Regions from separate parts of the Homo sapiens genome. Here region 2 is linked to region 1. Evidence: promoter capture Hi-C in human tissues and cell types (Jung and others, 2019). All regions are on one chromosome and are shown on one strand. Each heading gives the region's core, a stretch centred on a gene start or on the middle of the fragment in contact. The rest is flanking DNA. Distances are from core to core; before and after follow the strand shown.

Region 1 (4,474 bases), core at 1,265-3,764:
TGGTGCATTCACTGAGGTGGGGGAACCCTGGAGGAGGAACAGGGGGATGAGGGAAGGATGATGAGATTAGTTTGGAACATTTTGAATTTTAGGCTTTTGTAGAATAATTAGAAATCAACAGGCAGTTTCAAACCCAGACCTCTAACTCCAAGCTATCTGCACACTGCCTGGCCAATAGGAAGCACTATTGCCATGAGTGTTATTAAATCTGGACTGCAGAAAGAGATACGGGAGTGTCTTACAGGAGAGTGGTGAGATACGCACGAATAATAATAATGTCAGCAATAATATAGCACTTATTTTGACTTAGTTCAGTACAGAACTGGACTCTGTCCATAAAAAGAGTCAAACTCAGTAAAATATTTAAAGAGATTTATTCTAAACTAAATATGAGGACCAGTGACCCACGACACAGCCCCAGGGGGTCCTGAGATCTTGTGCTCAAGGTGGTCGGGCTACAGCTTGGTTTTACATGTTTTAGGAAGATATAAGATATCAATCAATAAATGTAGGATGTACATTAGCTCCATCCGGAAAGGAGGGACAACTCGAAGTGGGGAGTGTGGGGGCACCTTCCAGGGCGTAGGTGGATTCAAAGATTTCCTTTCCTTTCCTTTCCTTTTTCCTTTCCTTTCCTTTCCTTTCCTTTCCTTTCCTTTCTTTTCTTTTGAAGATTTCTAACTGGCAATTAGTTGAAAGAGTTATGGACTGGGCACGGTGGCTCACGCCTGTAATCCCAGCACTTTGGGAGGCCGAGGCGGGCGGATCACGAGGTCAGGAGATCGAGACCATCCTGGCTAACACGGTGAAACCCCGTCTCTACTAAAAATACAAAAAATTAGCTGGGCATGGTGGCGGGCGCCTGTAGTTCCAGCTACTCAGGAGGCTGAGGCAGGAGAATGGCATGAGCCCGGGAGGCAGAGCTTGCAGTGAGCCGAGATCGCGCCACTGCACTGCAGCCTGGGCGACAGAGCAAGACTCTGTCTCAAAAAAAAAAAAAAAAAAAAAAAGTTATTAGCTAAAGACCTGGAATCAATTGAAGGGAATGTCTGAGTTAAGATAAGGGGTTTTGGAGACCAATGTTCTTATTATGCAGATGAAACCTCCAGGTAGCAGGCTTCAGAGAGAAACGATTGTAAATGTTTCTTACCAGACTTCAAAAGGTGCCAAACTCTTAGTTAATTCTCTACTGGATCAAGGAAAACACTTTGAAAGTGAAGGGGATTCTTTACAGGATGTAGATTTTCTTCACAAAAGACAGCTTTACAGGGTCATTTCAAAATATGTCAAAGAAATACATTTTAGGGTAAAATACTTCAGTTTATTTCAGGGCCTGTTATCTGTCACATGAGACTATACTAGAGTCAGGTTAGAATTTGATGTCTTATTGCTATAAAGAGTTTGTTTTGGGCTGGGCGTGGTGGCTCACGCCTGTAATCCCAGCACTTTGGGAGGCCGAGGCGGGCGATCACGAGGTCTAGTTCAAGACCAGCCTGGTCAACATGGTGAAATCCCGTCTCTACTAAGAATACAAAAATTAGCCGGGCGTGTTGGCACGTTCCTGTAATCCCAGCTACTCAGGAGGCTGAGGCAGGAGAATTGCTTGAACCCGGGAGGCGGAGGTTGCAGTGAGCCGAGATCGGGAAACTGTACTCCAGCCTGGGCTACAGAGTAAGACTCCATCTCGGAAAAAAAAAAAAAAAGTTTTAGTCAGTCTCAAGATCTCTGTTTTAATGTTAATGCTGGTCCGTAGTGCCTGAATTCCAAGGGCATAACGAGGCAAGTCCGATCCCCTGCTTCCCATCATGGCCTGAACTAGATTGCCAGGTTTTCTTTGGAATGTTTTGGCTGAGAGAAGTGGTCCATTCAGTTGGTTGGGGGACTTAGAATTTTATTTTTGGTTTACAAAACTGTTGCATGAATTGACTCAGTTAATTCACTGAATTTATAAATTACAAACTTTTACCATTCTCAACTGATAAATTGAGGCAACGATTTAAGTATAACTTGAGCAAGTCCATATAGAGTGGAGCCAGGAACGCAGACAATGAGACACCATACCCCATGGTCTTAGGTCACAGTCATTCAGTGGGAGACAGGGGCTATAAATTCATTAGAAGGTTAAGTTAGGAATTAAGTAATTAGGTAAGGAATTAGGAATTCAGTTAATTAAGTTACAAATTGTTAAATATGGAGGAATTTATCATGTAGTTGGGGTACTAAGACATAAGAGAAAATAATAAAGAAAAACAGGAGCGGCCGGGCGCGGTGGCTCACGCCTGTATTCCCAGCACTTTGGGAGGCCGAGGCGGGCGGACAGCTTGAGCTCAGGAGTTCGAGAACAGCCTGCGCAACATAGCGAGACCCCCGTTTCAAAAAACACACGAAAAAATTAAAATTAAAAAACAAACAAACCAGGCGCAGAGCGGTTGTGGAGAAGGGAAGCGAAGGGTTGGAGTTTCGTTTCGTGGGAACCATAGAGAAGGGCCAGCCTCCCGGCTTCCTAGAGAGGCTGTAGGGACCGACGGCCGGCCAGCTAATGCTTCCGTCTTGGCCACCTTGCGAGCGCTCGGGTTGAGTTTCCCGGGCTTCCCTGACTCGGCTACCTGTTCTGGAGGTCAGGCTTTGGGCCCTTGCAGAGGTCGCCGAGGGGCCCGCGCCGCCGCCAGAGCCTGGGCCCAGTCCCCAGTCTTCAGAGACGCCCTCGACCTTCCTGCTCCGAGGAGCTGGCCTGATGTCCTCGGGTCGCGGTATTCATGGGGAGGATGGGAGCCGTGACTATAGGGTCTCCTGCTTCCCAGGGTGGAGCGTTCAGATCCCGGTTAGGTCTTCGGTCAGCATCACCCGCTGGGACATTAAGCGTCTTACCCTTGTCACCCGGGGCTGGGTCACCACTTATATTTTGTCCTGCAGCCTGTGGTTTGTTTAGGGGTCCCCGTTATATCCTACTTTCTCTCCAGAGACTTGTTTTGGGTTTTTGCCATGAACACTAGAAGCATTCAATACAAACTGTTTAGTAATGCATTCATAGTGGGGCCAAGAATTTTTTTTAAAAAACAGCCACGAATCCACTGCAGTTCTTGACTCTTACTTTACAGATATTCTTTCTAGAGTTTCCAGTGTCACCAAGCAGATCTATAGGAGAATATGCAGAGGGAGCATTTGCAACATCCCATGAATCAGTGGAGAGGGTGAATGACAGCAGCTAGTGTGCCAAGAATATCTGCAATGCTAGTGGCAGGAGACAGAGGGGAAGAGGCGGCAAGTGTAGGAGACGAGACAGATCAGTCTCATTGTGGTTCTCTCTTAGCTCCGCAGGTTCTTACTTTTTCAAACCTAGAGGGCAGTGCATGAAGCCAGGGGTCATCAGCCATGCTCCAGACAGTGTGGTTCCAGGTGAGCAGAGCTTTCTTTCAGCTTTCCATACTCAGAACAGATATGGAAGGTCAGTACAGCCCCAGTAGCCTGACTTGGCCAGTCTCATGCTTAGTTTTACATCCTTCAATAAAGTATGTAAAAACAGTATGCGAGGGGAGTTGACGAACGAGAGTAGGTGAATTTGGGAGAGTCAGGTAGGTTGGAAAAGAAGGAATGAATTATCCTAGAAAGTGGGAATCTGCATTCATGAGAACTGAAAGTGTGGCCTGGAGATGAGCAGCTTTTGCATTACAGAGGGCTCTTGTTAGGCAAAATGTCAGGCCCCCTCCCCAGATCTCCTAAATCAGAATCTACATTTTTACAAGATCTGGAAAATTAAAGGGCAGATTAAAATTTGAGGAGTGCTAGTCTGCGTTCACAGTACACAAAGAAAAGCCATTTCTGAGGTTAAATAGACACTTCCAAGGGAGGAGTTTACCCTGCAGACCACTCAGTTAAGGTACAGTGAAGCCAGAACTGGAAACATGTGGAAAATGTAGATTGATGAGGGAGATGTATTTTTGGAGGAATGATGAGTTTGGAGCTGAAGCCAGTGCCTTTAGCTCAATGCGAAGACGTCAGTCTAACCTCTGTGAGAGTCTATATCCTTTCTTGGCTACAAATTCATGTAGCATTGGGAGGACTTTTCCCTCCAGTTTTCTTGGTGGTAGATGATGGTTTTACTGGATTTTTCTCCAGTGTCCTAGATCATGGAATGAGAAAGCTGAGTTTATCATGTAATGGATGTATCTTGTAATGAGAAAGCTCCATCCCAAGGACTTAAAAACAATGTGTGTGTCCTTTTGGTGGATATTGGACCATCCACTTCTGTTCGAGAACTTCAGCAAAAATTCATTCCTACAAGTCAGGAAGTGTGCTGTGGGGGTATGCTGTGCTCTCCTGGTGCTTTGCCTGAAGTACAGAAATCACTTAGGATTAGATTCCCCAAAGAGGACCCCAAATGACAGTGGATTAAACGAGGTAAAGGCTTCTCTCTCATACAAAAGTATCAAGAGTCAATACAGGGCTAGTGTGGCAGCTCCCCTATTATGCTCTC
Region 2 (4,474 bases), core at 983-3,482, 1.6 Mb after region 1:
TATCTCAATGGCAGACTCTGTTATTTTTTTTTGAGATGGAGTTTCGCTCTCGTTGCCCAGGTTGGAGTGCAGTGGTGCGATCTTGGCTCACTGCAACCTCCGCCTCCTGAGTTCAAGCCATTCTTGTGCCTTAGCCTCCTGAGTAGCTGGGATTATAGGCGCCAGCTATCATGCCCAGCTGATTTTTTGTATTTTTAGTAGAGACGGGGTTTCATCATGTTGGCCAGGCTGGTCTCAAACTCCCGACCTCAGGTGATCCACCTGCCTTGGCCTCCCAAAGTGCTGGGATTACAGGCATGAGCCACCACCCCCGGCCACAGCCTCTGTTCTTACAAACTAGTGGATACAGGTGCCGGAACACCAGGCCGTGGGCCACGTGTTTACATGCTGCTCCCCAGTAGAGTTGCTGAGTGGTTTATGTTTATTCCGGAAATACATGGTTCACTCTGATTTTACAGGTCTTCCGCAGGTAAGAATCACCTTTGATTAGAGTCAGGGGATTCCTGGCAGAATGGGGAGCTGGAGACCCACTTAGATCAGTGATTGCTAAGTGTGAGCTGTGTGGCTTCCCTGGGCCAGGCACTGAGTTATGACAGTAAATGAGACAGTCCAGGTCTGGGGGCAGACCAAAGAGACCCAATGTAGTAATAGATGTAGGATATGATACCAGGTAGTGACTAGGGGAGAGAATGAGGTGGCAGCAGAGGTGTCTTTAGGGAGGTTATAGGTGAGCAGAGATTGAATGGGGATTGAGCCATGGGAACATATGGAGGAAAAGCTTCCCAGGCAGAGCAAACAGCAAGTGCAGAGGCCTTGGTGAGAAGGCCAGTGTGGCTGCAGTGCAGGGGACCCTGGGGATAGTGGACGTGGATGAAGCCAGGAGATAGTCAGGGGACGGCTGCATCCCACTGGCCTGCTGGCTGTTGTAAGGAGTGGGTATTTTAATCTGCATATGATTGGGAACTACTGGAGGATTCTGAGTATGGAGGAAGCTGCAGGGGAGTGACAAGAATTGATTGATTTTTAGATGATTTATTTATGAGACGGTATGTTAGTCTATTCTCACATGGCTATAAATAAATACCTAGGATTGGGTAATTTACAAAGAAAAGGTTTGATTGGCTCATGGTTCTACAGCCTGCACAGGAAGCATGGTGCTGGCATCTACTTGGCTTCTAGGGAGGCCTCAGGAAACTTACAATCATGGTGGAAGGCAAAGGGGGAGCCAGCACTTCACTTGGCTGGAGCAGGAGGAAGAGAAAAGATAGAGGTGCTACACACTTTTAAACAGTACCAAGGGGGATGGTGTTAAACCATAAGAAACCACCCCCATGATCCAATCACCTCCCACCAGGCCCCACCTCCAGCATTGGGGATTACAATTCAACATGAGATTTGGGCGGGGACAGAGATCCAAACCATATCACAGTGTCTTGCTCTGTCACCCAGGCTGGCATGCAGCGGTGCAGTCTCAGCTCATGGGAGCATCAACCTTCTGGGCTTGAGTGATCCTCCCACCTCAGCCCCTCCAGTAGCTGGGACTGCAGGTGCGCGCCACCATGCCTGGCTAATTTTGCTTGTTTTTTTGGTAGAGATGGGGTCTCACTATGTTGCCCAGGGTAGTCTTGAACTCCTGAGCTCAAGGCATCCTCCCTCCTTGTCTTCCCTAAGTGCTGGGATTACAGGTATGAGTCAGTGTGCCCAGCCTGATAGAATTTTTTTTTTTTTTTTTTGAGACAGAGTCTCACTCTGTTGGCCAGGCTGGAGTGCTGTGGTGTGATCTTAGCTCACTGCAACCTCTGCCTCCCCGGTTCAAGTGATTCTCATGTTTCAGCCTCCCAAGTAGCTTGGATTACAGGTGCGTGCCACCATGCCTGGCTAATTTTTGTATTTTTAGTAGAGACGAGGTTTTGCCATGTTGGCAGGCTGGTCTCAAACTCCTGGCCTCAAGTGATCCACCCACCTCAGCCTCCCAAAGTGCTGTGATTACAGGTGTACGCCACTGCGACTGGCCCTGATTGATTTTTTAAATGAAACCCCAGCTTCTGTGTGGAGAGCCAGAATAGGGGAGGCACGATTGGAAGTACGGATGGTAGAGAGGGTTTTGCACTGGGATAGGTGGGAGAAGGAGAGTGGTAGAAGGTGGCATTTCAAGGCAGTGGAAGGATGTGACGTGCCCTGTGGGGTAGAGGGACAGGAGCAGCCAAGGGAGAGAAGAGGCGAGGGTGATGCCGAGATCTCACAGACATCTAAATGGAATTTTTAAGTCAGAAAACATTTACATAATTTTAAAATCCTGGGCTTAAAAATTGTTGTTGGCTGGGTGTGGTGGTTCACACCTATAATCCCAGCACTTTGGGAGGCTGAGACAGGAGGATAGCTTGAGGCCAGAAGTTCCAGACCAGCATGGGCAACATTGGGAGGCTGAGGTGGGAGGATCCCTTTTGAGCTCAGGAGCGCAAGGCAGCAGTAAGCTGTGATCTCGCCACTGTACTCCAGCCTGTGAGACAAAGCGAGACCCTGTCTCTAAAAAAAAAAATATATATATATATATATGGCCGGGCGTGGTAGCTCACGTCTGTAATCCCAGCACTTTGGGAGGCCGAGGTGGGTGGATCACTTGAGGTCAGGAGTTCAAGACCAGCCTGCCCAACGTGATGAAACCCCATCTCTACTAAAAATACAAAGATGGACCAGGCATGGTGGCGTATGCCTGTAATCCCAGCTATTTGGGAGACTGAGGCAGGAATATTGCTTGAATCTGGGAGATGGAAGTTGCATTGAGCCAAGATTGCACCACTGCACTGCAGCCTGGGTGACAGAGGGAGACTCCATCTCAAAAAAAAAAAAAAAGAATATATATATATATATATATATATATATATATATATATATATATATATATATGTAACTTGTTGGTCAGGCAGTTAGTAGGGACTGCTTGGGTTAAAGTTTTCCCGGTATTTGAGAACTAGGTGGAAGCATCTTCATCTCAAGCTAGAAGTAGTGGATGAAGAAGGAGAATGTTCTTTTATTTTGTAGCTGAGAGATTACTTTCATTGGCAGAAGTAAGAAGGTAAACCTCAAACTTCATCCCAAATCATTGAGCATGGTGTAACGATTGAACAGAGTACAAAGAGAAAACGGAACAATGTGCTCAGAGCACAGTGTCAGTGACACTTAACCTCAGCTATTTGAATTTTTTTTTTTTTTTTTTTTGAGATGGAGTCTCGCTCTGTCACCCGGGCTGGAGTGCAGTGGCGTGGTCTCGGCTCACTGCAGCCTCCACCTCCCAGATTCGAGCAATTCTCCTGCCTCAGCCTCCCAAGTAGCTGGGATTACAGGCATGTGCCACCATGCCTGGCTAATTTTTTTTGTATTTTTAGTAGAGATGGGGTTTCACGATATTGGCCAGGCTGGTCTCGAACGCCTGACCTTGTGATCCACCCGCCTCGACCTCCCAAAGTGCTGGGATTACAGGCGTGAGCCACCGTGCCTGGCCTTGAATTTTCAAAATTGAAAGTTTTCCAAAGATTCCTGACTGGACATGGTGGCTTATGCCTGTAATCCCAGCACTTTGGGAGGCTGAGGCAGGAGGATAGCTTGATAGCAACATAGCGAGACCCCCATCTCCACAAAAAATAAAAAAGTTAGCCAGGCATGGTGGTGTGCGCCTGTAGTCCTAGCTACTATGGGGCTGAGGGAGGAGAATCACTTGAGCCCAGGAATTTGAGGTTACGGTGAGCCATGATTGTGCTACTGTACTCCAGCTCAGGGGACAGAGCGAGACCTTGTCTCAAAAAATAGTTTTCTGAACATTCTTCAGGTGATTTGATAGTACTTCCTCAGTATATGTGTTGTAAAATTTGCTTAGGCTGTGTCTGGATGCAGTGCCTCATTTGAAATTTACTGTTTTCAAAATGATCCTTTTAAGAGTGGGGCTGTCTGAGGTGCGTTTCCAGTTTCCTCACGGCATGGATAATAAAATGCCCCCAGAGTAAAGATCAGAATTTCAGGGACCAGGGAGAGTATAAAAAGATTAAACAGCTGATCCAAGGCTCATCATTATCACTCTTGCTCACCTCAACAATCTGAGATTAGTTCCCTCCCTGCAAAGCTGCTGGCTCTGAGCACAGCATGGGTTAGGGGGCGGGGAAGGGATGGGGCATGGGGTGAAGTCTGAATTCTTCCCCATCTTCTGAAAAGTGAGGGGAATCAGCTCCTTCACCCGCAGGCCTGGAGAGACTGAGTCAGGAGTGCTTAGCGGGTTTCCTTTTTAAGTGTGTGCTGATGCTTCAAGTGGGTAAGTGGCTGAGGTTATCAGTAGAGACTCTAGAAGGTGCAGTTCTCTTGGAATCTGAAGTATTTGAGGACAGAAAATCATGCTGCTTTCTGGTGGAGTATGGTAAGAATAATCAACACGGAGAGTTGGGCTTGTTTGGGGATTGCAGTGAGTGAGGCATGCCTGGTTAAT

Evidence for each region. Contacts are between HindIII fragments. The study calls those that stand out against the background at their distance.
Region 2: a fragment that was not itself captured here is called in contact with the fragment with the promoter of ZNF619 in region 1 in 1 of the 25 tissues and cell types used here (lymphoblastoid cells).

Annotation. Positions count from the first base shown.
Region 1 is chr3:40,474,608-40,479,081 of GRCh38, forward strand. It overlaps ZNF619 (zinc finger protein 619), which reads left to right and starts at 2,515. Exons shown (of 5, transcript NM_001145093.4): 1 at 2,515-2,750; 2 at 3,311-3,396. The coding sequence starts at 3,373. RefSeq lists an enhancer at 2,689-2,828. The HindIII fragment of the contact is 8,968 bases long and covers 1-4,474 here.
Region 2 is chr3:42,027,835-42,032,308 of GRCh38, forward strand. It overlaps a transcript of TRAK1 not described here. Among named protein-coding and RNA genes, the nearest start is that of TRAK1, 61 kb to the right of the region's middle. The HindIII fragment of the contact is 5,858 bases long and covers 1-4,474 here.